Linked DNA regions of Homo sapiens: all the other regions are linked to region 1. The links are contacts of gene promoters, found by promoter capture Hi-C in blood cells and fetal thymus (Javierre and others, 2016). All regions are on one chromosome and are shown on one strand. Each heading gives the region's core, a stretch centred on a gene start or on the middle of the fragment in contact. The rest is flanking DNA. Distances are from core to core; before and after follow the strand shown. Region 1 holds the start of RAB24 (RAB24, member RAS oncogene family). Region 2 overlaps HK3 (hexokinase 3). Region 3 overlaps UIMC1 (ubiquitin interaction motif containing 1). Region 4 overlaps UIMC1 (ubiquitin interaction motif containing 1). Region 5 overlaps UIMC1 (ubiquitin interaction motif containing 1). Region 6 overlaps TMED9 (transmembrane p24 trafficking protein 9). Region 7 has its middle 2.2 kb from the start of ZNF346.

Region 1 (4,258 bases), core at 1,759-4,258:
CATACCAGAAAGGGCTGCAATAAATTTCCTTCTGGTTGAGCAGCAAGTGTCAGCCCTGTTTACAGTTAACACCTGATTCCTCAGAAATATCTGGATCTTCTTTGGGGAAAACTTGGGAGTTTGCTTCCCTTTGTGACCTAGTCCTGAACTTCCTGCCCTTTCAGCAAAAAGTGCTTGGGAAGATTGGGAAAAACATTTAGTACTAGAGTTACTCTTCACTTTCTTCACAATCCTTGGGCTGCATAGTAGTCACCTTATTTTACAGATGAGAAACTCAAGATGAGGATTTAAGTCCCTTTTCTAAATTAGCAGCTGAATTGGAACCAAATCTGGATCCATTAGACCTTTCTGGCTTACAGAACTTAGGACTTTCCTACCATTAAACCACATTGTAGGATGTCACTGGGAAGCTCAGGACCTGAGTCACAGGTCTGACATAGGGGCCCAAACATGACAGATGCAGTAGAGCTAGTCAGACCAACCTGTCTCAGGTAGGAATGCTTGACCCTTTTATTTCGAAGCAACTCATGCACTCTTTTCAGCACTCAGAAGGAACTGTGAGCTTTTATACTACTACAGCCCCAGTATCTCAGCGGTAACCATGGGGAAAAAAGTCTTGTTTTCCAAAGGAAAATGAGAGTTGGGAGGAGCCTTAATATAAGCAGTGAGGCCAGCCGGGTGGCCCCAGGAAGAACTAGGTGTCTTGACACCTAATCCACACAGCAGGGAAAGGGGCTGGGTGTGATGCACAGTGCACTGATTTTATTTACAGATCAAAAGCCACTTAAATAATCTGCAGACACAAGTGCTGTCCAGGGCAGAAGCCTGGGGTCCAAATCAGCCTTATCCCTCCTCATGCCCACAGTCAGCCCAATGCTGTCTCCGTTCCATGGGCCAGCACAGGCAGGCGCCACTCTGCTGACATGAGGACCTGGGGTAGCTCAGACATTTGACTACCCAAGCCCAGAAAGGAGCTGGGTCCAGCCCTTACGGGGAATTCCTTTAATTCCCCCAGGCCAGGTGAGTGCTGACTCAGTGATGACAACAGCTGTAGAAGTAGGGGTTTGGCTTCTGGCCCAGATCCACGCCCTTGTCCTCTGTCAAAAAGAGAGGTGGCAGCTCAGCACCATTCTGTTGGGATCAGGTAACTCAGGAAAGGGGCTAGATGCTGTGGGCCTAGAGTAAGTCTCCATAAAGGCTGGGGAAGCACACACCTGTCATCACCTGGAAGGCAGCCACACTGACGTAATCCTCTGCCACTTTCTGGAAGAGCTCGTCTGGCAGGAAAAATGATGATCAGCGAGGGCCCAATGCCAGTAGCCCTGGGATCTCCCAGTGACCCAGCCCTCTGTGCCCTATTCAGCTTCCTCTGGTGCCCCTGCATGTTCCTGCTGTGAGGCTCCAGCACAGCACTCACCCACACTCTGGCCTGTCTTGCTGGATGTTTCAAAGAGCTGAGCTTTGATATCTGTAAAGAGAAGTGACTAAAGCCTCATACCTGAGAATTAGATAAACAGACAAAAGGGAGGGCTAGCAGTTCAGGGAGTCTCCTGGACCCCACAGTTCAAGGAGGCCAGGAAGACCTCCTAGAGCACCTTGCCCTGGCAGCCAAGGCAGTCCCTATTTTCTTTGATCCACCCAGACAGCCACACACCCCCACCCCCCAAAGGGCTGAGGAGCAGCTACTGTCTGCATAGTCCTGGACGTCGTGGAAGTCCACACGTCGACGCCTCCGGTCTTCTTCCAGCAGGTCACTCTTGGTGCCACATAAGTAGATTTGGCAGCCCTGAGGCAGAAGACAAGGGTCACCTCCACAGGCCAACAAAACCCCAGCCCCTAGTGTTCTAGTGAGGTCTGTTCACCTACCTCCTCTAGGCTGCGCAGTTCCTTCACCCAGAACTTTGCTCGCTCAAAGCTGCTGCTGTCTGTGAGGTCTTGGTGTGCGGCATGCAGGAGACAACCAAGTGGTCAAGGGCTGTTCTCTGGCTAGCCTGGCACCCATCTTTTCTTGTGAGACAGCCCAAACCCCCCCCCCCCTTACCATAGCAGACGATGGCAGCCTTGGCACCCCGATAGTAGATTCTACTCATGGCCTCATAGCGCTCAGAGCCTGCTGTGTCCTAAAGAGTAAGGCCTGAGTCAAACTTAAGGCCACGTTCTCCAGACCCCGCTATTTTCCAGATAAGGAAACGGGTCTATGAGAAATGGGTCTGTGAGGCCACAAATCAACCAGTAATAGGCAGGACCTACACCTCCTCAGGAATGAGTCTCCCAAGAATAGATGGCCGGGGGACTTACCCAAATACCTAATGTCACAGTCCGGTCTCCGACCGACATCACCTTGGCCACGAAGGCGGCCCCGATGGTCTGCAACGAGAGGGAAGAGATCGGGGCCATAGGTGCAGATTACCGGCCCCCCACTCCCCCGCCCACCGTGCCTGGCCCCTCCGGATGCACTCACGTTCTGATAAGGCCCCACCAGAAAGCGGTCGTGCACGTAGCGCTCCACCAGGCTAGTCTTGCCCACGTACTCCTTGCCCAGCATCACCACCTTGACGTCCACGCGCTGCCCGCTCATGCTCCCGGGGCCGCTTCAGCCACGTCAGGGTCCTGAGCGGGGACGGGAGGCAAACCCCGATCTCCGCTCGGCCCAGGCAGCGCCCAAGCCTCAGACCCCGACCCCAAACGGCGCCAACCTACGACTCCAGACAGCGCGTCGGGCTCGAGCTCTGGCCGTGGCCTTGCACTTCGGCAGCGCCCCGTGTGCCCCCGCTGTTCGGCCCCGGGCGCCGATTATCCTTCGAAGACCCCAAGCCTCGGGGCGGCCTGGGAGCGCGCGGGACAGCGTCCTCAACAGCGCAGCACGCCGCCGTGCAGCTCGCTACTCCGTCATTCGCTCGCCTGCCCGGCTTAAGCTCCGTTCTGGCTGGGAATCCCAACCGAACCTGGGGTCTCCCGCAACCCGGCTCCTACCCGCAGCGCCGCGACTCCCGCGGGAGGGGGCTAGAGGGCGAGGGGGCGGGGCCGCAAGGTCACGTGGCGCGGGCGCCGGAAGCGGTGGCTACTGTGTGGCTGCGCCGGAAGTGGCGCGCGGCCGGACAACTCATGGCGGCGGCGGCGGCGGCGGCAGCTGCTTGGGCGCGGTGCGGTGGTGACTGAGCTACGAGCCTGGCGGCGGGTGTGCGCCGAGCCCCGGCCCGGCCCGGCCCTCGCGTGCCTCCCAGGCTCCGCACCCCTGATGCTGCGCGGGTGCTGAGCCCGCTTCGGCCGGGACGATGGTGAAGTATTTCCTGGGCCAGAGCGTGCTCCGGAGTTCCTGGGACCAAGTGTTCGCCGCCTTCTGGCAGCGGTACCCGAATCCCTATAGGTACGTGGTATTTGGAAGAGCAAAACCGCGCCATCTCGCTATCTGGAGATCGAATTATGGGTAACCCCCAAGTACTGGGACCAGGAAGGACTCGATATCGAATCCTAGGTAGACCTTATCGGGGAAGCGGCCAGGCCAGGCCTGCAAGGTCCTGAAGGGAGGTTGGGCCTGGGTGGTGGTTTACTTGAGACCTTAGTGTAAGATTCTTTTCTCAGTGTGGTGAGACAAGAAGAGGCGGCAGTATGGGAGTTGGGAGGGATCTTGGAGTTGGAAATCCTATTTCTCTGCCCGTGGCGCTTTCCTGGGGTGCAATAAATCATGAGGTCCATTCCTGCTAGAAGGCAGGAATCCAGGTCAGTCAGATGGCGGGAGTGGGAATTTGCCCTGGGATGGGCCCTTAACTCTGGTTTGAACCATAGCACATACCACCCTGCAAGGTTACGGGAAGGCGTGGCCTCTCTAGGCCCGGAGCCTCCAAATGGGAATCCCCTCGGGCAGTCTCTTAGGGGCAAGCTTCTGAGGGTCACCTTCACCCTGACACCTGCAGCAAACATGTCTTGACGGAAGACATAGTACACCGGGAGGTGACCCCTGACCAGAAACTGCTGTCCCGGCGACTCCTGACCAAGACCAACAGGATGCCACGCTGGGCCGAGCGACTATTTCCTGCCAATGTTGCTCACTCGGTGTACGTCCTGGAGGACTCTATTGTGGACCCACAGAATCAGACCATGACTACCTTCACCTGGAACATCAACCACGCCCGGCTGATGGTGAGACACCTCCTGTTGTGATTCTGCACCTCCCCCTCTCCCCTCCCCCCGAGATAGAGAGCTCCTCAGATACATGTGGCTAGAGAGCCATAAGGCAGCTTTTGTGGCCGGAGGCAGG
Region 2 (4,258 bases), core at 477-2,976, 410 kb before region 1:
TCACTTCAATTTGAAATCTGTTCTGTGCACCAGCCATACGCCCCCGTGTCGCCATGGCCTCCACCCTTGCACACACAAAGGGAAGCATCGTTTCTCTCCTTGGATGTCTTCTGGCCTCCCATAGCTCAGTCTGGCCCTCCCTCTGCCTAAGTGCCCTTCGTGTCCACTGGCTTGCACATGTGATCCCAGAGGGCCCTCTGGGTGTGTATCACACACACGTGTTCATGCCAACTAATCATGCGGATCACGTTTCCACAATACCTGGGGTGCCGCTCACACACTCGGCCTCCGGTGGCCACAGCAACCTGGAGTGTTTGTTGCTCCCGGCTGTGCTGGAGGCAGGAGAGAACAGCGGCCAGGGCGGCAGCACAGAGCTGGGCAGCCCGCGTGCACACGGCCGCACAGACGTGCTGCACAAGCTCAACATCCGAAGCCCCAGGGCTCAGGCCCAAGTCCTGCAGGATAGCATGGACACGGGCTGCCCCAGTAGAGGGGCTGGAGGGGAAAGGGAAGTGGTTTGGGGCTCAGCCCAGAAGCTCCCCATCCCACTAAAGCCCCATGGCTACCTTGGGAACAGAGTATCATCCCCTTCCTCCAAGCCAAGAATCCCCCACTAAACCACCATCTCCCCGACTCACTCCTCCATCTCAGCCACGTGTTCCAGGAGGATGCTGCCTTGGCTCAGCAGGGCAGGGGAGGTGCAGCCACCAAAGAGGACCCCACACCGGGCCAAGTGAGCCAGCACCAGCCGCACCAGCTCACCCAGGTACAGGCCTCCGATCATCTTCTCAAACCTGCAGGGGGGAAGGGTGGCTGGAGGAAGCCTTTTCTAAGCCCTCAGTCCACCTGGCCCTACCTCCAAGAGTTCCCAAAGAAGGATTCTTTTCTTTGGGGCTCCCAAACTGGAGACTCCAGAAGCAACGAATAGCCTCCCAGAGGACAGGTGGGTGTATGCCCAGACCCCACTGCCCCCTCTGACATAGGTTACATTCAGAAGCCTCCTGGAGAACAAGAAGGACCCAAAGGAAGGCAGAGAGCAGTTTGCTCAACCACTTCCAGCCCTCAACCCCCAAACTGTCAGGGCAGGCCAGAGTCAGGAACAGGGAAGATCAAGGGTTGACAATTCTGGATTCTAGAACTTTGGGCCCTTCCTTCTTTGAACCTGGCCAGGGCCCCCAGGTTGCTCCCTGGAGACCCTCAGAGTGACAGGGAGGGGCCTAAGGGCCTGAGAACAGGGACAGAAGGGGTTGGGAGCAGAGCAGTCATAGACAGGGCCTGGAACCAAAGGTCAGGGCCCCCTGCCAGGTCACCTCTGAGCACCAGGATTCAGGGACTCATGGTCCAGGGTATGGTCGAAGGTGGTCAGCACTGGTCCCAGCGCCCCATCATCGCTGAAGGAGCCCCACTCGACGCTGACGCAGACGCGGCCCCGGTCTTCGTCCAGCACTGCCACATGCCGTGCCTCCTCCATGTAACACGCGTTGGTGCCCGTGTCTGGCAGAGACAACCCTGTCAAGGCCTGCTAGCCAGGCAGCACACCCTCCACCTGTCATCACAAATGGTCCATGGCTCACCTACAACTAGCCCAACCTCACACGGCCTGACCCCCGGCTCACAGCCCATCATGGTGCCCACTGTGTCGTTCACCACAGCAACCACGTCGATGTTGTAGGCCTAGATGATGAAGAGGGCAGAGGTCAAGGCTGGCCTGAGTGGCCAGAGGAGGGAATCCAGGGGATGGGCAGGGCTGGGGCCCTGGCTTTGAAGGAGATACATAGAGTCCATGAAACACATGTCTGCATGCCACACACATTTGTGCCACAGATGCTCTGGGCTCCCACCTTATAGGAACTTTTCCTCCAATCCCACCCTCAGCTCCTCCCTAACCCCCAACTTGCGCCCCCAGGTCACAGTGACGTCCACCCTCACCATCTCCCAGGACCAGGATGAGTTTCCTGAGACTGAGCACCTCCTTGAACTCTGCGCCTTGCCAGCCTCACTGTCATCCTGCCTGGCTCCCCAAGCCTGTTCCTCCCAGCACTGGCTTCTCACCACAAGAGGTTAGCCCAGACGGATCAGCCTTTGTCCAGCATCCAGACTCTTGTGTGTGGCCTTCTCTGAGACTAGATCATCCGCCCCAGCCCCAGCCTGACTTGAAGGGAGGCAAACTCCTCCTTCAAGCCCCTGATCAAAGAGCCAGTGCTTCCTCCGTAGTGCTCCCAGAGTTGTCCACGCACTCCTCCTTGACACGGACAATCTTTTATTAGAATGCTTCCCCATCTAGACTGTGAAAACCTTGAGGAGGAGGTCAAAGTCTATTCATGTTTTTTTGCCCCAGGTCCTGAATGTTTATTTGACCTTTCTTAGCCTCAGTGTTTTTTAACCTATACAATGGGAATGGTAGCAACATGTACCATGTATAGGTTAAACTGGATGGAGGTTAAACTGGATGGAGGACATGAAGAGAAGAGGAAAGCAACTCTCTCAGAAGCCCAGACCCAACGCATGTGTGCCAGGCCCAGGCCAACATGGGCAGCCCTCCTGTCACCCCTCCCTCCACTCACCCCCTGCCTCCGAATGGCATCTCTCAGCAGCTGGACCACATCCTGGCCTTCCACACCACTGCACCTAAAACCTTTGGTCCAGGAAATGAGGGTGCTCTGGAGGTAGAGAAGCTGGGTTACTCCTCTGACGGCCTTCATGGGGCTGCAGCCACCCTCTACCCAGCGTCCCATGTCCACTCCACCTCACCCTGTCCAAGCCCGTCTGGTGACAAGGGAAAGAGAAGCTGAAGCCAAGCTGCAGACCCTGTTTGTTCACAGGCTGCGCATCCAGGAACTCAGACAGGCAGTGGGCAGCAAAGTCAAAGAGCTGCAGGAGAAGTGGGGGGGCTCAGCCTTGCCCATCTGAGCCCTAGCCACCCAGCCAGGCCCCCAGACCCCAGAGGCTGGGCAGTGAGTGCTTACCTGCTGGCCAGCACCCAGCATCACCTCTTGGGGGATCACAAACTCCTGGCTTCTGGGCTCCACCCTATGCCCCTCAATGCCAGTTAGAGTCACCCACAAAACACGCAGTGAGGCCCCTGTGGCCCCCAGCTCCAGCACCACGAAGTCTCCTTGCTCTGGAGGGCAAGCAGGTCACAGAAAGCCATGCAGCTGGCAAGACCAGAGCCCTCTGCCCACTTCCCAAATTCCTAAGGCCTGCAAAGTCTGGTCAAGGGGCCATAGAGATGGGGGACAGGAATAAGGAACGTTTCCCTCCCCTAGATCAGTACCCTCTTCCAGGCCTGGCCACGCATCTCAATCTATGATACCCACCAGTGCCATGTGGGGTGGACCCCACGTATGTAGGCAGCATCCGGACCGCAGGGGCAGGGCTGGCCTGTCCCCTCAGCGCCTGCTCCATGGAACCCAAGAGGCTGGCTTGGATCTGCTGTAGCTGTGCCCTTGTCACCTTGAACTGCTGCAGGCACTCCTGCACCTGGGGAGAAACAGGCCAACATCTGGGAAGGAGCACCATTGGGCTGGCCAGACTCCCCACCTCCAAACAAGGCAGAGGCCTGCCCTGCCCAGCCCACTCCTCGGCTCTTCATACACCCTGACTCTCTTGCCAACAGCCTGCACCCAGCTCTGGCATCCTCAGAAGGCTCTGTCCTGGAAAGAGAACCCACCTTCTTCCTCCTCCTGCCCCATTACCTCACGGCTCCTTCTCAATTTCTTACATCCTCTACCCTACCCCTCCTCTTCTTTGAATTCAGGGTTTGGCAAGACCTTCTTCCTGCCATACCACTAATGATTGCTCTCTGGCTCCCCAGGACCCACAGCAAGAGTCTCTCAGTGAGTTGTTGTTGAACGAACAAGAGAATAAACAAATGCACGAACAAACTTCAAGTGTTTCCCTCTCCTAATCCACTCTCAGACTCTGAAGCCTGAAAAAGCCCAGCACGAGAGCATTTGGAGACCACACTGCAGAGGATGGTCCTTTTTTCAGTCAGTCATCCTTCCCAAAACATTGCTCCAGCCCTCACTATGCACCCAGCTGTATTCTAAGCACCGCACACACATAACCACCCAAGAAGCAACAAATGCTTTAGATTCCAGGGTGGGAGACAGAAATTAAGCACGTGAACATACAATTTGGTTCCAGTAGTGATGGTGGCTATTAAACGTAGGGGGGCAGGATAAGAAATTAGAGAGTGACCAGGGTAGAAAGAGGTATTTTTAGATATGAGTTCAAGAGGGTTTCCCTGAGGAGGTGA
Region 3 (4,258 bases), core at 1,209-3,708, 380 kb before region 1:
ATCTCTAGTAAAAATACAAAATTAGCTGGGTATGGTGGCGCATGCCTATAACCTCAGCTACTTCGGAGGCTGAGGCAGGAGAATTGCTTGAACCTGGAAGGCAGAGGCAGTAGTAAGCCGAGATCATGTCATTGCACTCCAGTCTGGGCAACAACAGCAAAACTCTGTCTCAAAAAATAATAAAAAAAATTGAATTCCTCAGTCCCATGAGCCACATTTCAAATGCTCAATAGCCATATGTGGCTACCATATTTGACAGCACAGCTATAGAGCACTTCTATCATTGCACAAGTTCCCATTGGATAGTGCTGTTCTTTCATGAGATTAACCAGGACCAATCCTATTATGCCTCAATTCTGTCTACCTTGAGCACCAAAAGAAATCCAAGCCTCCTCTGGCATACCTCTTCAACTGGATTCTCATCCCCATTTGCCACCATTCTTGGTGATTTCAATATCTACATATTAGACTGAACCATATGAAGTTGCAGTTTTTGTAACTTCAACCCAAGATATGATCCATCCAGTACTCCAGCCTCTCAGTTCCCTGACCTCTTGTTTATTAATTCCTATGGCTCCTACCATCTCAGCCTTTCTCCAGTGGGGTTCCAAGAGAGGAGTAAGCCTAATGCCCTAAGGCACCCACCAAATGTTATAAGTCAATTTCTGTCCCCTGCATCTAAAGTGGTACCAGCTATGTATCATAACTGGGAGAAGTAAGCAAACAATGAATTCATTTTCTGACTTCCATGGTTCTAATGAAGAACTCTAGCTGAGCCTATCATTAATGATGAGCTCAATTTCAGGTGTCCATTCTCTGTTCACCATCACCTATCTTTCCCAACTCACCCTCTCTAATGTTCTTACACCAATCACCCTTCAGCCCCACTAGGACATCTAATCCTATACTATCATCTTTTCACGATTACCCTGTCATATCTTCGCATTCCTTCTTGCCTTAGTTTACATAGTTATCATATTAACACTCCCCTTGAATATTCCCTCAACTTCTTTCTACTGTACTTACTTGCGCAATCCGACTTTGGTTAAATACAGCCCTCCTACTTATTAGGTGTCCCTATCTGCTGAATGTGACAGGAACAAAAACACATACAACGTGCTGACTGGCCTCACTTTTTATTTAAGATCAAAATCTTAAGTGGTCCCTCACTACTGCTAGCAATCTTGACATATTTTCCTAGTCGGTTCATTCTTCCATCCTCCCAGGTACTATTTCACATCTTCTCTGCTATTCTCAAAACTCTAATATCCATTCCGATTCCTGTATCACTATTCTTTTTTATTTAAATATAACTTCACTGAGATATATTCATGTACCATATAATCCACCCATTTAAAGTCTATGATTCAATGGCAAGTACCTGGGAGGCTGAGGTGGGAGGATTGCTTGAGGTGGAGAGGCAGAGGCTGCAGCGAGCCAAGGTTCCACTACTGCACTCCAGCCTGGGCAACAGAAAGAGAGTTCTTTATATATTCTGGATACTAAACCCTTAACATACATATGATTTGCAAATATTTTCTCCTATTCTGTAGGTTGTCTTTTCACTTTCTTGATAGTGTCCTTTGATGCACAGAAGTTTTAAATTTTGATAAAGTCCAATTTATCTTTTTCTTTTGTTGTTTGTGCTTGTGGTATTATATCTAGGAATCCACTGCCAAATCTAAGGTTGTGAAGTTTTATCCCTAAGATAGTTCCCCTGACTCGCTGAGACAAGGTGTCAACTGTGTTGCCCAGGTGGGACTCTAAGGATCCTCCTGCCTCAGCCTCCCAAGTAGATGGGACTTACCAGTGTGTACCACTGTAGCTGCCTATAAAAGCTTTATGACTTACATTTAGGTCTTTGATCTATTTTCATACGTAGTATAAACAAGTGGTCCAACTTCATGGTTTTGCAAGTGGATATTCAGTTGTCCCAGCACTACATATTGAGAAGACTGCCTTGTTTTCCCCCACTGAATTGTCTTGACATTCTTCTCAAAAATCAATTGCCCACAAATGTATGGTTTTACTTCTGGACCCTCAATTCTATTCCACTGAACTGTAATGCCTACCTCTATGTCTTAATTAGTAAGTTGTAAAATTGGAAAGTATGAACTCTTAACTTCGTTCTTTTTCAAGACTGTTCTATTCTGTGCCCCTTGTATTTTGGTATGAATTTTGGGACCAACTTGTCAATTTACAAAAAAAAGTTAGCTGGGATTTTTGTGGGGTTTTCTTGTTTGTTTTTTTGAGAAGGAGTTTCGCTCTTGTTGCCCAGGCTGGAGTGCAATGGTGCGATCTTGGCACACCACAACCTCCGCCTCCTGGGTTCAAGTGATTCTCCTGCCTCAGCCTCCTGAGTAGCTGGGATTACAGGCATGCACCACCATGCCTGGCTAATTTTTTTTTTTGTATTTTTAGTAGAGACGGAGTTTCTCCACATTGGTAAGGCTAGTCTCGAACTCCTGACCTCAGGTGATCCGCCCACCTCAGCCTCCCAAAGTGCTGGGATTACAGGCGTGAGCCACCATGCCCAGCCTAGCTGGGATTTTGAAAAGGATTTGAAATCTGTAGATCAACTTGGTGAATACTGCCATCTTCACAACATTAAGTATTCTAAACCATGAACAGGAAATACCATTCCATTTATTTAGGTCTTATTTAATTTCTTTCAACAATGTTTTATAATTCTCAGAGAAGTTTTTTATTTCTTTTGTCAAACATATTCCTAAGTATTTTATTATTTTTGATAGTATATTAAATGTAACTGTTTTCTTAAATCCACTTTCAGATTGTTCACTGCTAGTGTACAAAAATACAGTTCATTTTCTATATTGACCTTGTATCCTGCAAACTTGCTAAACTCGTTTATTAGTTCTAAAGGCTTGTTTTATTTCAGTGGATTCTCTAGGATTTTCTATATAAAAGATGTCATCTGATAGAGTAGTTTACTTCTTCGTTTCCAACCTGAATGGCTTTTATTTCATCTCTTTCCTAACTGTCCTGGCTAGAACCTCCTTTACCACGTTGAATGGAAGTGGCAAGAATGAACATCCTTGTCTTGTTTCTGATTTTGGGGAAAGCTTTCAGTCTTTCACCATTAAGTATGATATTAGCTGTGAGTTTTTCATAGACGCCCTCTATCAGGCTGAGGAAGTTCCTGTCTATTCCTAGTTTGCTGAGTATTTTATTGTCATGAAGGAGTATTGAATTCTCTCAAATGCTTTTTCTGTGTCCATTTAGATATCGTGTGGTTTTTGTCCTTTGTTCTATGATACAGTATATTAACTGATTTTCTAATGTTAAACCAACCTTTCAGACTTTTTTGATGAGAAAAAAGTAGTACTTGAGAGAACTTCTACACTCTTCCACCACCAAAAGTATTAGTCTATCTGCATCTGTACCCATATCCTCTGCCTTCCCTCCTATTGCACAGAATGAATTGCCCACACGGCTATCTAAGGCTCACTTTTCCATTTGATCCTGAATCTGAACGCTTCTTGCTTAATTAAGGATTCCCCTCCTGCCATCATCTCTCCTGAAACATCAATTTTTCCCTCTTTTTTTAGATCATTCCATCAGCATACAAATATGCAGTAATATTTCCCATAAGGTTATTTCTAGACTTGTATATCCTGCTGTCTGCTCAACATCTTCATTTGGTTATTCACTGGGCATCTTAAAATTATGTACAAAACCAAATTCTTAATTTCTTCCTCCAAACCTGTTCCTGCCCCAGTGTTCCCGCTCTCAAACAACGAAGTCATCATTAACCCAGTTGCTTGGGGCAAAACCTTGATTTCACCTTAGTCTTTCTTGTTCTCTCACACTCCAATAAATCCTGTAGGTTCAACCTTCAAAACATTCCCAAATCTGACAACTTCTTTACCTCACAGCTACCTCTATGGTCAAAGCAAACATCAGATCTTCCCTGGAATAATGCAACAGCCACTCCCCTCCACCCCTGCTTAGTCTCCTCAATTCCATTTTTGCCCCATCCCTCTATAGATTATTTTCCACATTGTAGCCAGAGTTAGATTACATCATTCCCTCGTTCTCAACCCCCCTATGGCTTTTCATCATATTTGGAATGAAGTACAAAAACCTCACCTCACATGATCTGACCACTGTTTATTTCTTCTCTCCTTTCCCCCTGTCGCTCAATCTAATTCAGTCATTGTGTCTTTCCTGCAGCTCTAAGAAACATGCCAAACACACTCTTGCTTTAGGGCCTTTGTATTTATTCCCTGACCTAGAA
Region 4 (4,258 bases), core at 598-3,097, 370 kb before region 1:
AGGAAATATTACAGCTGAGCTGCCTAGTTCTAAAACTGACATTTCTTCTACTTTATCATAGTGCCAAAAACAAAATATTGACTCTATTTTCCCAGCTTTCACCCTTGTCCCACAACCCAGTAATCTACTGTCCACATAGTAGCAACCAGAGTGGAGTGATCCTTTGCTTAAATATTATTCTTTGCTCAAGTCCCTCCAGTGGTTCCTCCCTTGCTCAAGGAAAAGCCAAAGTCCTTATTATGGCCTAAGAACCCTGTGCTCTGTCCATCTGCACTCCTCCCCGTTACCTCTCTGGTTTCACTGTTTATCTCTCCCTTACTTACTCTAATCCAGCCACATTCAACCTGTTCACACCTCAGGGTTTTTGCATTTATTGTTCCTTCTACCTGTAGCACTCTCCCCACCTCACAATCTTCTTAGTTTATTCCCTCACTTACTCTAGGCCCCTGTTCAAATGTCATCTTCTCAAGGAGACCTTCCCTGATCACCTATTTTATATTGCTACCTCCTGAGACCTCGGTATTCCCTATTCCCCTCTCCCTCTGCTTTACTTTTTTCTCTAAAGTACTTATCACCACTTGAAATATTGTATATTTACTGTTTTCTTGTCTGCCTCCCACTACTAGAAAATAAGCTCCATGAGAACAGGGACTTATATTCTGTTAATTGTATATTCTGCTCACTGTATCTGTTATATAGTAGGTATACAATAAATACGTATTGAATGAGTAAATGGGGGCTTTTATTCTCCCTAGGTGTCTAACACAATTGGCCTTAGATACATTTTCCAGAAAGTAAATGCAAAGGCAACGTGCATTTGTTCTAGTCTAGATCAACGTAGTCAATCTTCTCCCCTCAAACATTACCTTTAAAGAGCATTCCCTCGGCCAGGTGCGGTGGCTCACGCCTGTAATCTCAGCACTTAGGGAGGCCGAGGTGGGCAGATCATGAGTCAGGAGATCGAGACCATCCTGGCTAACATGGTGAAACCCCATCTCTGCTAAAAATACAAAAAATTAGCCGAGCGTGGTAGCAGGCGCCTGTAGTCCCAGCTACTCGGGAGACTGAGACAGGAGAATGGCATGAACCTGGAGGCAAAGCTTGCAGGAGCCGAGATCGTGCCACTGCACTCCAGCCTGGGCGACAGAGCAAGACTCTGTCTCAAAAAATAAAAATAAAAAAAGAAACAAAAGCATTCCCTCTAATTTTTCATAGTTCTGAATAGACAACGTCATTGAGCAAAAAACTGAGTAGACTGAGCCAACTTAACCAGTGCGTAGTATTATAATCAAAACTTACAGCAAAGTTAGTCAGACATATATTTAATGATATGCATAATTGTTATTGTGCTGCACGGTAAGTAGGCATAAATAGTAGACACTTTATGTAAATGATTCTAATTGCTATTTCTTTTACACAGCCAAACCAAGCACGTCTAGGATCCGCTTCAGGGGAAGACAGGAAGGAGTGAAAAGCTAGATACTTAATACTGGGAGGTTACGTCCTCTCTTATTCCACCCCTTAAGCATTGGGCTAATGGTCTCCCAGCTTGGCTTATGTGTCTTCAAGAAAAGTAACTTGCCAGGCATGGTGGCCTAGGCCTATAATCCCAGCACTTTGGGAGGCCAACGCAGGAGAATCACTTGAGCCCAGGAGTTCAAGACCAGCCTAAGCAGCATAAAAAGACTCCATCTCTACAAAAAATAAAAAATTAGCCAGGCGTGATGGCATGCACCTGTGGTCCCAGCTACTCGGGAGGCTGAGGCAGAAGGATCACTTGAGCCTGGGAGGTTGAGGCTGCAGTGAGCCATGATTCCACCACTGCCCTCCAGCCTGGGCTACAGAGTAAGACCCTGTCTCAAAAAAAAAAAAAAAAAAAAAAAGGGAAAATTACTTCTTTCCTTCCACAGTAAAAAAAAAAAAAGGCTTCCTTTTACAAAAGATTTTAAAACTAGGTTGGGAGCCTGGCCTCTGTCTCCAGTCATATAAAGCTAAGAGGAACCAGCACAATCACTAACTTCTGTCTCTGGCAAGGAAGATGGGGCAGGCAAGCTGGTGGGGAAACCAAGTAAAGAGATCAAACGTACTGAGTACCTATTGTACACCAAGTACACTAGCAGGTGCTCTGCATAATTCCTCTACTTCCCCAACCCACCTATACCCCCAAGCTCTGTTCCCAGGAAAGTAGAGGAACATGCAGAGAGTAGAATGGTTCCAGTGAGGGCACCCTGCTCCCTCTCATAGGGCCTGAAAAATCAACAGAGAGCTCTCTTAGGAAGATTAAGACGAAGCTATTGTTTAGTGGCCATTTCCCTTGCTTCTTATCTTATCTAAACCCATAGGAGGGGAAAGGGCCCTCTACCTTGCTATGGGTTTATCCAGACCTAACCAGCCTGCAAAGCCAAGGCTAAGCCCACTCTTTCTGGGATCTCATCCTTATTCACTGCAGCTCTCCTTTCTCCCATTGTCAGGGACATTTACTTGGGTACACAATTATTCACTTGTGTCATCTTTTAATTAATTTCTTGGGGAAATGCTTATTTCACCATTGATAATGCAAGCTCCTTGAAGAGAGAAATCTTAAAACTTCTTTAGTAAGCTTCATAAGGCCTAGCACCATTTAAAAAAAAAAAAAGTGCAATGCCAGGCAAGGTGGCTCACACCTGTAATCCCAACACTTTAGGAGGCCAAGGCGGGATGCCTGCTTGGGCCCAGGAGTTCAAGACCAGCCTGGGCAACATGGTGAGACCCTTTCTCTACAAAAGAAAATATAAAAAACTAGCCAGGCGGGGTGGTGTGTGCCCATAGTCCCAGCTACTCATGAGGCTGAGGTTGGAGAATCACTGGAGCCCAGGAGGCAGAGGTTGCAATGAGCCGTAATTGTATCACTGTAATCCAGCCTGGGTGACAGAGTGAGATCCTGTCTCAAAAAAAAAAAAAAAAGAAAAAAAAAGAAAAGCTCCAAAATATCTGGATGAATTAAAGGTAAATATGAAGTAATAGGTGATAGAAAAGAAGCAAACTTCTGGCTCTAGGTAGACACATTGGCATTGAAAAGAAGGATGTAGTACAGTCATGTGCCACAAAAAGACATTTCAGCCAACAACGGACCATCTATATGATGGGGGTGCCATAAAATTATAATACCATATTTTTACTATACCTTTTCTGTGTTTCTATGTGTTTAGATACACAAATACCATTGTGTTACAAGTGACTACAGTGTTCGGTACAGTAACACACTGTACAGGTTTGTAGCCCAAGATCAATAGGCTATACCTTATAGCCTAGGTGTGTAGTAGACTACACCATCAAGGTTTGTGTAAGTATACTCACTCTATGATGTTTGCACAACAAAATCACTTAATGACACATTTCTCAGAACACATCCCCATCACTGAGCAACACGTGACTATATTCTAAATTTGTCTTCTAAACTAGTTTTTATAACAAATTTCCCTATGAAAAAGAAAGTGTGACTGTCATTCAGGATATAGCAGACATCTTCACATGGAGGTCTGGGGTATTCGCATCAAAGCTATAAAGACATATGATGCCGAGAATACAGGGACTTTCTATTATATCAAAAAGCACATTTACATCTATCATGTCTGAAAGTCTGCGATATCCAGAGTGTAAATCCAACTGAACAGCATTAGACGGGGTCACTGATCCTGGACACAGCAGAACAAGGAGAACGTGAAATGTCCTCCCTGAATGGATGATGATGATGATAAGACTCAGTCTATTTTGCCCACCTAAATGGCCTGGTTCTAGTGGCATAAGTCTGAAAATTGGTTTGAGAAAATTCAGGAACAAGCCTGAATCAATTTCAACCACAAGGATTTGGGGATGTGAGTTTGAGTTCTCTCACCACACTCCAGTAAGGAAGACCGGCTTAACAGCAATTATCTTGTAATTAAACGATATCTGACAGTTATAAATGCCAAAGCTTCCTATTTTAGCACCAACTAGTGGAATTCAGTAAGGGAGATGTCAGTAGAAGCTATCCTATACTACTCCTTACCTGATCATTCTGACCTGAAGGAGGTCATATATTCCTAGAGCTCAATGGGGCATTCAGTTTCTCAAACTCATTTATTTCTGGACCTTGATGTTGTATTGAATAAGTCATTGACTCAGATACCCAATACCAGCTGTGTAAGTGCTTAGTAAGACAGACAAGATAGTCTCTTTCCTTTGAAATGCTCAGCCCCAGAATTCTTTTAGTCACTGGAACACTCAGCTAAAAAAAAAA
Region 5 (4,258 bases), core at 629-3,128, 350 kb before region 1:
TCAGAATGCAAATCCAGTAAGTTCTCTGTTATCTGACACTATACCTGCTGTACCTCTAATTAGCACTTTGCTTCACAAAACAATAAATGGCCAATGTCAGGCAAATAGGGCATCTGCAAGTTTCTAATGTATCTTCTGAATCATTAAGAAAGGATTAAATACATTTCTAGAATTAATTATATTTTAATACATCACAAATTTTTTTGAAAACTGGACACATACACACACACACACACACACACACACACACACACACCTTATTGGAAAAAGGCTTACAGGACATAAACTTCAAAATCCTGTCAACTTTCCCTAAAGGTATTTTCAAAAAGATATTCAGCATATTTAAAAGTAAGAACCATTCACTGCTTAGATTACTGCAATAATAAAAAGTCTTCAATTATGCTTTCTGTGAATGGCTGAAATGTCCAACTAAGAGGGCATTAGCTTCTCAGAAAAAAGCAATGCTAGAAGCATGCAAAATGTAGGCATAAGGCTATAATCCTGCTTCTTCAACTAAGTAACACTAAAAAGATATTGTAATCTTAAATATTAGACTCCTGAACTGTCAGAAATATGAAACAAAAGTAAACAGGTAACAGTCTACTACACTAAATATGTGTTTCACCCATTTGGAACAAATTTTTTCAGATAATTTATATATATAACTTCTAAATTATATATTTAAAAAGAAACCCAGGAGTTTGGCTTCATGGTGAAGCAGTTATACTTTCTTAGCAAAAGGAACATTAATGTAATGAATACCTTTTGCAATCTCATTTAGAAGTGGTTTATGTCAGCAAACAGTTGGACTTAATTAGCAGGCTAATGACAGCAAGTCATGATCATAAAAGCTATCTAACCTCAGTATGAAGGGCCTGCTTTTCCCTCTCATTAACTAGGCCTTTCAAGATCAATATATTTGCAGGTTCCTCCTGCAAGATCCCATGGTGATGTCACACGCCATCATCCTAAACAGACTGAGTGATTTCCTTCTAGGAAGTCAGTAGTCCCAGACAGAGGGGGAAAGCTTTCTTTTCACAAAGGTAGCACAGTATTCTTGAGTGCTCCTGCCAAAATCTGAGCACTCGGTAGTGTAGTCTCTTAGTGGGTATTGTTAGGCAGTAATCCAAACACATTTCAAATGAATTAAGGAGCCACTTTCAATAAAAACCAACATAGGCTGAGCACGATGGTTCATGCCTAATCCCCAGCACTTTAGGAAGCCAAAGCGGGAGGATTACTTGAGCTCAGGAGTTTAAGGTCAGCCTGGGAAACACACCAAGACCTCGTCTCTACTAAAAAAAAATAATAATAATAATTTTTAAAATTAGTTAGGTGTGGTGGCACATGCCTGTAGTCCTAGCTACTCGGGAGGCTGAGGAGTGAGGATCATTTGAGCCAAGGAGTTCAAGGTTACAGTCAGCGAGCCATGACTGCGCCACTGCACTCCAGCCTGGGCAAAACTCTGTCTCAAAAAAAAAAAAAAAAGAAAAAAGCCAACATAGTCCGATTTTTAAAATAAATAAAGACCTTTATGATAGACTGCCAGATGTTTAAAAATATTTATAGGTCTTTCCTAGATTACATGCAAACTAAGTTTGAGTCTCTGTGGAAAAACATTGAAGGAAACCAAAATAAGAAAACTATGATTATCTCTAATCCTTATAGGCTATACGAGACCTGAGGGAAAACCAGATGTGACTTAGGGCAACATCTGTATACTTGCTGTTCAAAGTTAAACATCAGTAGGAAGTCCCTCAATCTCACAGGAATGAGGCTAATGATCTTTTCAGAAAAGCCAGAAAGGAAAATATAGTCTAAAACAAATTCCTTAGAAAGTAGTGGTTCATATCACAAAATAATGCTTCATATTATACAATGATTCAGGAGTTTCTTAGATGGTAAGTATCTTAGTTCATTTTACATTATTTTGTATATCTAAATCTATCCATGTGCAACTTTGAATGAGCATCTCTTCTACCTAAAACAAAGTACCTATCTTTTAATTTTTACAATTAACAAAAAGCAAACTAAAGCACTTAACGAGGTTAAGCATCTTAGGTCTAAGATTAAAAATAATGACAGAACATGCACAAAACTCAATTTCTGAACCTCCTATGCAGTAAGACCCCAACAAATGGCAATATAAAAACTAACTACTAAAAGGCTGTGAAGTCCAGGCACAGTGGCTCACATCTGTAATCCTAGCACTTTGGGAGGCCAAGGAGGGAGAACTTAAGCCCCGAAGTTCAAGGCTGCAGTGAGCTATGATTGCACCACCGCACTCCAGGCTGGCTGACAAAATAATTTAAAACAATTTAATTTAAAATAATTTAAACAAATTAAATAACAAAAGGCTCTGAATGTACAGTTAAGCAAATGCTATTCCTGATGCTTTGCTGCCATCTCTGATGAGGCCTGTAAACAATCAAGAAGACAAAAAAAGTCATGTTAATTTCAAAACTAAATTACCCCTAAGGAGAGAAAAGATTGAGAATAAAAGCCAATGGCCATTAAAAACACCTATATGTGTATACGCATACGAGTGTTGAGACATGTACATACACGTATCAATTACATACAAACCTCCAGAGAGTAGGTTTGAAGAGTCAGAGGAAAATTAATAGGCATGAAAAGGTAAATAGGTATCAGAAATTCAGTAAAATCACAGTGGGGTACTTACCAGGACAAACAGTGATTTCTTCTGCAGAACTCTCTGGCATAAGGACTAAGCTTCTCTTACTGGTCAAAGCAGCAACACTGAAAGAGAACCAAATCCCAAATGAATTCCCAGTAAAATAAATCAGAACATAGAGCCAAAAGCAATGGTGAGTCACTCACAAAGCCACAGGTAATCACAGATACTTGCTGCCTAATACCACAAAAGCACAATAGGAAAGCAAGGAATCAGTACTGAAAACTCCAGACCAGAAATATGGAAAATAAATATGCTTACAACTTCAGTTCCAGTGAAATCACTGAATGAAAACAAATTCCCTTTTGGAGTTTTCACAAAGGAAGGTTGAAGGGTGAGAACTGTCTGTGAATATCAGAGAAGGCAAAAACTCCACTCCAATATAAGGATGTCAAAGGTGTTTTATAGCCTCCATCTCAGCCTTCTGAAGGCTAGAGATTTGTAAACTGACAAGAGAAGACACAGAGATTCTTCTGACAACACACTTTCTCCTCCTTTTGCAGTTAAATCTCCTCTTTATCTCAAGATGTTGCTTTCCATGCAACAAAAATAAAAAACAATTCCAAACTGCCCTACAGCAAAAATCTGCCCACATAAATTGAATCTCTTTTCTAACAAAAACTTAATTATGAATGGCTTCCTTCATCCAACCTTCTGGTTTTCCCTGACTGCTCATGGAGTGCAATCTCTTCCTGACATAGGAATACATGGCTGATCTGAGCATCTGAGCTAGCCCCCTCATGCTTCACAGGGCTTTACGATTAGTTTGATCAAGTATGCAAGAGGATGCTTGAAAACAAAAATCCTCACATCAACCAAGAACCACAGAGAAGACAGAATAGCTACAACTGAACTCATGATAAATAACTAAATCCTGATAGAAAACCACAAGTGATTTATCTCTAAATAAAACATCTCATAGCATTTGTTATAAACCCCAGCCAGACAGTTTACTCTGCATGTAACATTAGTGCTCTATTCAAAGGGTCCATCACAAAACAATTTTCTGACATTTATAAAATGGGCTAATCAATTTGAAGTCAAACCACATTGCCTGCGATTCCAACTCTCTCCTGGTGACAAAGTGTATAATCATTTATTAAAACCTACATCTGCTCTGCACAAGGCTCACCACAATAAAGCAGAGAGGCCTATAGGGAGTAAAGGCATACTCTGTTAAAACCACTTCCAAAACTGTCTTAACAGCAGGAAAATCAAACCAAAGCCATATTCTTTAGCCCAGGAAGGAATACCAAGTACTATCAACCAGAAGCCTAAGAAAGACCACCACCTTGACTACAGCAAATGGCAAGTGGGCTTCAACTCTCATATGGGAGAACAGTCATGCAGTTCAAAACTAAGCTCTTGAGAAAGTCTCAAAACTCAACTACTAGATAAAAAGGGCAAGTGGAAAGTAACTGGAAGCATGATCCAGTTAATAGTGCAGTTTATAATTAATCAACTGCTATCTATTATTAAAGTAAGAAGACTTAGAAGGTAAGCCCATCAATCAATCAGCAAGAACAATGGAGGAGGTAATGCAAATACCATCCTTTACAGGAG
Region 6 (2,500 bases), core at 1-2,500, 290 kb after region 1:
GTGAGCTGAGATAGCATCACTGCACTCCAGCCAGGACGACAGAGTGAGACTCTGTCTCAAAAACAAAAACAAAAAAGAACCCCCCAAAAAACAACTCACACCAAAAAAGTTGAAAGGGCATAAGCTATAAAGGAAAGCCCTTCCCAAGAGCAGTCAGTCACTTGCCACCCTAATGTCAGACTCTCAGAGTCTAAACACCTGCCCCAGAGAGTTCTCACACAAGCATATGGCAACAGCTGCTGAGCAGCTTTGAATCTTTCAGTGTTGTGAGGTGCGAAAGGCTGTGCCTGTCAACTTTTGCAGTACTTAGAGCCTTAAGCACTGTTTTCCTCCATTCCCATCCCTACCATAATACTGACTGAAGCTTGTTACCTTCCTCCAGGTCATCCTGGCCCGGCAGTATGGCTCCGAGGGCAGGTTCACTTTCACTTCCCATACCCCTGGTGAGCACCAGATCTGTCTTCACTCCAATTCCACCAAGTTCTCCCTCTTTGCTGGAGGCATGCTGGTAAGTGGGCCCATGTGAGACTTGCAGGTTTCAGCCTTCATCCTTTGGTGAGGACTGGGGGACTGGTGGTGCTGTGGGTGTGAGAGGATTATGTCAGATTTTGTGTCTCCTAAGAACACTGGGTTTCCACTGGATGTCCAGGACACAGTGACTGAGCTCTTTGTACATGCCTCACTCAGAGCACCAGCCCAGGCTTAATACTTGCTTGTGTGCCCAGAGCCTCATGGGGCTAAGACACTGAAGAGGGCCCAGTCTGTTGGCTAAATGAACAGATGAAGGAAAGTCGGGGATGAGCTGTCAGTCTCTGGCAGGAAGATGGAGCAGGGCTACCAGATTTCCCTTATCTCCTTTGTCTGTCCTCAGAGAGTTCACCTGGACATCCAGGTAGGTGAACATGCCAATGACTATGCAGAAATTGCTGCTAAAGACAAGTTGAGTGAGTTGCAGCTACGAGTGCGACAGCTGGTGGAACAAGTGGAGCAGATCCAGAAAGAGCAGAACTACCAGCGGGTGAGTGACTGGGCCGGGAGCAGTGGGCTTCTCCCTAGAAGCTGCCCACTGGCTCAGCCAGGAATTTCACATTAAATTCATTCTGAGACCCCCAAGGGACTTACCTGCACTGCATTGTAGGTCGTGGGGCGGGTATTACTAACTCGACCTTGTAATTGAGGATACAGACTCGTAAGAGGCTGTCATTGCCCTAAATCACAGTTACACACAGAATGGCACAGTAGCATTTGATACCAACACCTTGGGTGCTGTTTCAGTGGGTCCACATGCTCCCAGGACCAGGGTCTCAAACTTACCGGTGACCAGGAACCAGAGATTACCATAAGTGAATCTGTGACCTTAAGGACTAGTAGGGCAGTGACCCATCTAAACAAGCACAGCCACTGTTCAGTGTCACCTGGGGGCTTCCTTGCAGAAATACCAGCCCTGGCTTTACAGATGTTCCATTTTTTCAAGAGGAAATAGGATTTTTATGCGAACATTTTAATTTATTTTTTATTTTTTTCTATTGCTGCTGCACAAATTACCTGTGTTTTAAATGTTGACAAAAGACTGTGCACTGTGTGAGGCCAACAAAACATACCTAAAGGCCAGATCCAGCCCCCAGCCTGCCAGTTTACAGCCTGTGCCCACCATCTTCAAGGAGCAGTGTGGGAGACCTAGGCAGAGGGCTTAGAGCAAGTCCACTCCTGTGTGCTCCAGGACAGCTCTGCCTCGTGGGGTGATACCACAACTACCTTACCTCTCTCCCAGGCACCAGGGCAGGACTAGGTGAGGGCTATGCCTGACAGATGAAGAAACAGACTTGGGAGAATGAGTAGGTTGCCTGAGGGTAAAGATAGTCCCCAGGTAGAGTGACACTTTGCAGGCACTTGGCTGGAACCTGGGCAAAGCTGGCTGACCTTGGGCATCCTCTTGGTCTGGGAATCAGCAGTTCTAGCAGCCCCAGCCAACTCAGGCTCACCTTATATTCCCCTGCAGTGGCGAGAGGAGCGCTTCCGGCAGACCAGTGAGAGCACCAACCAGCGGGTGCTGTGGTGGTCCATTCTGCAGACCCTCATCCTCGTGGCCATCGGTGTCTGGCAGATGCGGCACCTCAAGAGCTTCTTTGAAGCCAAGAAGCTTGTGTAGCTGTCCCAGGCGTCACAACCCATCCTCCCAGGCTGGGGGAGAAAGGACCTCCTGGAACTGACTTCTTCTGTCAGGAGGACTGGTTTCCAGCCATACCTGTTCTGGAAGGGAGAGGGGCTGGAGGCACCCACAGGCACAAGCTGAAGGCAGCAGCTTGGCTAATACTGAGCAGGTAGTGGGGCAAATTCCTGCCCTCTCTCTCTGGCCTCTGGGCCGTTTGGTAGTAATCACCCAAGGGCTGGTAAAGCCCCTCCTCTTGGCACCTCAGAATCACAGTGTTACTGATCAGGGATGTGAGGCTGCTGTTGGGGGTGGGGGGAGGGGAATGGGCAGGCAAGCCAGTCTTCTGTC
Region 7 (4,258 bases), core at 873-3,372, 280 kb before region 1:
AGCCTGGGTGACAGAGTGAGACTCTGTCTCAAAAAAAAAAGAAAAGAAAGAAAAACTAGAGTTGAATCTCTTTGAGAGCAAGAACTATATCTTAAGCACTATAGTTTCGTTTGCACATGCACACACATGCACATACAGAGTCAGTATTTAAGCAACTGAAATGTATGCTGAACAGTAGCCAGTTCCCGTCCCTTAGCAAAGTCATTTCCCTGGGATTGTTCATCTCCCATGGCAACAATACACAGTAGGATGTGTTGGAAAATGGTTCTCATTTTCCACAAGGAGGAAATAAAAAGCCAGCCCAACAAATATAAGGCATCACCTGCACTGCCAGGTCCCAGCAAGGAGTCCAGGCCTGGGCCATTCCTGGAAGCACTTACACAAAGACAAAATAGAAAACTGGTGACAATGAAGGCTGTTCAGACCCTCAGCAGGGTAGCTCAGGACTCTGCCTCCATGGCACAGGGGATGAACCCTGACAGCACTCATTGGAGAATAAATGGACATTATTTTGAGCATGTAATTGGATTGGAGGTTGTTTTCCAATAATATGCAAAGCAACTTATATACTCCACTCCCAGTATTTGTTACATAGTATTAAAAATATCCTTGTGGGTTCTGCGACTTCGACAAAAATCCCCTGTATCCCTTGGATTATCCCTGAATAACTTATGCTATATGCAAGTGTAAGTAACTAGAACTCTTAAGATAAATAAGTAGTTTGTGACCATCCTGGCTAACATAGTGAGACCCCGTCTCTAAAAGTAAATAAATAAATAAAAAGAGAATAAATAATGTGCAGTCACTGACTTTTAGGCTGGTCATCTGGTTTTGGCAAAAGGACATAGATTTGCAATCTAAGGACCAGTGTTCAAGCATGGGCTCGTACCTAACTAGCTGTGTGATCTTCACAAAACCTTTACCTTTCCTAGTCTGTTTCTTTATCATCACTTATGAAGAAATCCCTCACAGAAACCACCCTGAGGATTAAATGCTATAATGTAGGTGCTTTGCAAACTGTAAAGCACTGCCCTGGGCTGGGTGTGTGGTTCACACCAGGAATCCCAGCACTTTGGGAGGCTGAGGCAGGAGGATCGCTTGAGCTCAGGAGTTTGAGACCAGCCTGGGCAATATAGGGAAACCCTGTCTCTACAAAAAAAAAATTTTTTTTAATTAGCTGGGCATGTTGGTGTCCACTTGTAGTCCTTGCTACTCAGGAGGCTGAGGCTGGAGGATCACTTGAGTGTGGGAGTTCAAGGTTACAGTGAGCTATGATCATACCACTGCACTAGTGAGACCCTGTCTCGGAAAAAAAAAAAAAAAAATTGTAGGCTGGGTGTGGTAGCTCATGCCTGTAATCCCAGCACTTTAGGAGGCCAAGGCGGGCAGATCACCTGAGGCCAGGAGTTCAAGACCAGCCTGGCCAACAAGATGAAACCCCGTCTCTACTAAAAATAGAAAACATAGCTGGGTATAGTGATGGATGTCTGTAATCCCAGCTACTCGGGAGGCTGAGGCAGGAGAATTGCTTGAACCCAGGAGGTGGAGGTTGCAGTGAACTGAGATGGTGCCACTGCACTCCAGCCTGGGCAACAGAGACTCCGTCTATAAAAAAAAAAAAATTGTAAAACACTGGCCAAACATCAGTCACCTACTGTATTGGAAGCTTGGAAGCTCTAGGGCCTGAGGCCTGACATAGTGCTGGTGCTCAATATTTGTAGTATAAATAAGGAAATACTTGTAGTATAAATGACTAAATTACACCAATGAGCTATATGATCTCAAGCAAGAATAATTCATATCTGTCTCTCTTTGGCCTCCTCTGATATTACTTTCCTCCTTGTTCACTGGGCTCCAGCCATGCTGTCGTTTTTCCTGTTCCTCCAACACATCATGCTCTCTCCTGCCTCAGGGCCTTTGTACCTGCTGTTCTCTCTGCTAGAACACTCTTGCCCAGCTCTTTGCATGGCTACGCCTTCTCATTAATCAGGTCTTAGCTCAAATGTCATTTTCCCAGAGGCTTCTCCTGATGCCACCCTGATTAATGTTCCTAACACATCATTCACCTGAGATGCAATCCTGTTTTATCTTCTCCTTAGCACTTATTATTGTTAACTTTTTTTGTTTTTGAGATGGAGTCTCGCTCTGTTGCCCAGGATGGAGTGCAGTGGCACGATCTCGGCTCACTGCAAGCTCCGCCTGCTGGGTTCACACCATTCTCCTGCCTCAGCCTCCCGAGTAGCTGGGACTACAGGCGCCCGCCACCACGCCCGGCTAATTTTTTTGTATTTTTAGTAGAAACGGAGTTTCACCATGTTAGCCAGGATGGTCTTGATCTTCTGACCTCGTGATCCACCTGCCTCGGCCTCCCAAAGTGCTGGATTACAGGCATGAGCCACTGCGCCAGGCCTACTGTTAACTTTCTTATTGTACTCTCCTCCACTACAATAAAAAATACTTTACTACAGCTTCCCTGTCTTGTTCACCACTATATTTCCATGCTCAAAATATCATCTAGCTCATAGTAAATTCTCCATAAGTATTTGAAAAAATGAGGTTGAAATAAGCTAGTAATATTAAAAGCTTCATTCATTAAACAAATGTTTTGTATATACCTAGGAGGGTCCAGGTTCTATTTCAAAGTGCTGGAGATTCAGGTGCAATGACAAGAGACAAAAGGCTACGCAAGGTGGCATGTGCCTGTAATCTCAGCATTTTGGGAGCCCGAGGCAGGCAGATTATGAGATCAGGAGTTTGAGATCAGCCTAGCTAACATAGTGAAACCCCGTCTCTACCAAAAATATAAAAATTAGCTGGGTGCCGTGGCATGTGCCTGTAATCCCAGCTACTCAGGAGGCTGAGGCTGGAGAATTGCTTGAACCCGGGAGACGGAAGCTGCAGTGAGCCGAGATCGCGTCACTGCACTCCAACCTGGCGACAGAGCAAAACTCTGCCTCAAAAACAATTTAAAAAAAGAAAGAAAAGAAAAGAGACAAAAATCCCTGCCTTCCTGGGGCTTGCCTTCTAGTCGGGAGACAGACAATAAGCAAGATAAAAGGTAAAATATAAAAGAAATAAAGCAGGAAAGAAGGACATGAAGTGTGTGTGGAAAAGTAACATTTTAGATGGGATAGCCAGACAAGGTATTTTAGATAGAGTAGCCAGAGAAGGAAGTGGGAGACTGAGCCATGAAGATATATGAGAGAAATTCACCCCAGGAGGCCTGGATAACTGGGACAGGAATTAAGGAGTTGGGGACTGAGTAACACATCAGGATCAGGGAGGTTAAGGGAAGTCAGATTGTACAGGGCCTTGTTGGTCGAAGTAAGGACTTTGGCTTTTTTTTTTTTTAGTCGGAGTTTCGCTCTTGTTGCCCAGGCTGGGGTGCAATGGCGCCAGCTCGGCTCACAGCAACCTCTGCCTCCCGGGTTCAAGCCATTCTCCTGGCTCAGCCTCCGAGTAGATGGGATTACAGGCATGTGCCACCACACCCGTCTAATTTTGTATTTTTAGTAGAGACGGGGTTTCTCCATGTTGGTCAGGCTGGTCTCGAACTCCGGACCTCAGGTGATCCGCCCCCCCTTAGCCTCCCAAAGTGCTGGGATTACAGGCGTGAGCCACCGCGCCTGGCCGGACTTTGGCTTTTACTAAGAGTGAGATGGGAAGCTGTTGGAGGATTTGAGAACCTAAGCGTCATGATCTGACTTGTCATAAGAGGATTCCTGGAACTGCTGTGCTGGGAATGCCAGTGAGGTTGCTACTACAATAACCTAGGCAAGAGATGGTGGCTCCCAAAGACACGGGAAGGAGCAGCTCTGGGGTTGGAAGATAAAATTTGGGGTCTGACAGCTACATTGGAGAAGCCTATTAGCCATTCGAGTGAACTGTGGAAGAGGCAACTGGATGTATACAGGTCCGGAGTCTCGGGGAAGATCAGAGCTGGGAGCTGGCACTTGGAACTCAACAAATAGTATGTATTATTAGCAGTAATATGGAACCTTAGCTGTACTACTACTTACTAGTAGCGAGCTCTTGAGTTAACCATTTTTAGGTTCTGGGCCTCAGTTTCCCTGTGAATGAAATGGCGAAAACACTCCCACATAACGGGACCTTGAGAACGAAATGAAAAGTATCAAGGGCTGACCGTGAGCAAGGTGAGAGCCATGAGCCAAAACCACACGAGCCTCTCCGGGAGGGGGGGGTCACTGCTGCGGAATCAGCGACAGGTTTCCGAATCCACGGCACACGCTCTGAGGTA

Evidence for each region. Contacts are between HindIII fragments. The CHiCAGO score rates a contact against its expected background, and 5 or more counts as called.
Region 2: a fragment that was not itself captured here is called in contact with the fragment with the promoter of RAB24 in region 1 in 1 of 17 cell types (monocytes); the score reaches 5.7 in monocytes.
Region 3: a contact is called between a fragment that was not itself captured here and the fragment with the promoter of RAB24 in region 1, in 1 of 17 cell types (monocytes). The highest score is 5.6, in monocytes.
Region 4: a fragment that was not itself captured here is called in contact with the fragment with the promoter of RAB24 in region 1 in 1 of 17 cell types (monocytes); the score reaches 5.2 in monocytes.
Region 5: a contact is called between a fragment that was not itself captured here and the fragment with the promoter of RAB24 in region 1, in 1 of 17 cell types (monocytes). The highest score is 5.0, in monocytes.
Region 6: a contact is called between a fragment that was not itself captured here and the fragment with the promoter of RAB24 in region 1, in 4 of 17 cell types (monocytes, activated CD4 T cells, neutrophils and 1 more). The highest score is 6.4, in monocytes.
Region 7: a fragment that was not itself captured here is called in contact with the fragment with the promoter of RAB24 in region 1 in 1 of 17 cell types (M1 macrophages); the score reaches 6.6 in M1 macrophages.

Annotation. Positions count from the first base shown.
Region 1 is chr5:177,300,711-177,304,968 of GRCh38, forward strand. RAB24 (RAB24, member RAS oncogene family) reads right to left here and starts at 3,009. Exons shown (of 8, transcript NM_001031677.4): 1 at 2,462-3,009; 2 at 2,299-2,367; 3 at 2,042-2,120; 4 at 1,867-1,934; 5 at 1,687-1,786; 6 at 1,418-1,468; 7 at 1,215-1,277; 8 at 488-1,097. The coding sequence starts at 2,578. The coding sequence ends at 1,033. PRELID1 (PRELI domain containing 1) reads left to right here and starts at 3,089. Exons shown (of 5, transcript NM_013237.4): 1 at 3,089-3,367; 2 at 3,915-4,140. The coding sequence starts at 3,276. RefSeq lists enhancers at 700-1,899, 3,064-3,941, 3,580-3,679, 3,790-3,839, 3,860-3,919 and 3 more and silencers at 2,900-2,969, 3,020-3,099, 3,210-3,349. The HindIII fragment of the contact is 8,255 bases long and covers 1-3,878 here.
Region 2 is chr5:176,888,071-176,892,328 of GRCh38, forward strand. It overlaps HK3 (hexokinase 3), which reads right to left. Exons shown (of 19, transcript NM_002115.3): 3 at 3,318-3,480; 4 at 2,967-3,121; 5 at 2,752-2,871; 6 at 2,565-2,660; 7 at 1,575-1,674; 8 at 1,311-1,494; 9 at 639-794; 10 at 262-495. Among named protein-coding and RNA genes, the nearest start is that of HK3, 9.1 kb to the right of the region's middle. The HindIII fragment of the contact is 6,946 bases long and covers 1-4,258 here.
Region 3 is chr5:176,917,789-176,922,046 of GRCh38, forward strand. All of the region lies in intron 10 of UIMC1 (ubiquitin interaction motif containing 1), which reads right to left. Among named protein-coding and RNA genes, the nearest start is that of HK3, 21 kb to the left of the region's middle. The HindIII fragment of the contact is 1,245 bases long and covers 1,837-3,081 here.
Region 4 is chr5:176,936,330-176,940,587 of GRCh38, forward strand. All of the region lies in intron 10 of UIMC1 (ubiquitin interaction motif containing 1), which reads right to left. Among named protein-coding and RNA genes, the nearest start is that of HK3, 39 kb to the left of the region's middle. The HindIII fragment of the contact is 1,499 bases long and covers 1,099-2,597 here.
Region 5 is chr5:176,953,276-176,957,533 of GRCh38, forward strand. UIMC1 (ubiquitin interaction motif containing 1) reads right to left here. Exons shown (of 15, transcript NM_001199298.2): 8 at 2,684-2,760. Among named protein-coding and RNA genes, the nearest start is that of UIMC1, 51 kb to the right of the region's middle. The HindIII fragment of the contact is 1,706 bases long and covers 1,026-2,731 here.
Region 6 is chr5:177,593,268-177,595,767 of GRCh38, forward strand. TMED9 (transmembrane p24 trafficking protein 9) reads left to right here. Exons shown (of 5, transcript NM_017510.6): 3 at 383-508; 4 at 872-1,018; 5 at 2,000-2,500. The coding sequence ends at 2,149. Among named protein-coding and RNA genes, the nearest start is that of TMED9, 2.3 kb to the left of the region's middle. RefSeq lists an enhancer at 141-1,340. The HindIII fragment of the contact is 1,776 bases long and covers 363-2,138 here.
Region 7 is chr5:177,018,320-177,022,577 of GRCh38, forward strand. It overlaps a transcript of UIMC1 not described here. Among named protein-coding and RNA genes, the nearest start is that of ZNF346, 2.2 kb to the right of the region's middle. RefSeq lists enhancers at 4,081-4,258, 4,142-4,191. The HindIII fragment of the contact is 917 bases long and covers 1,665-2,581 here.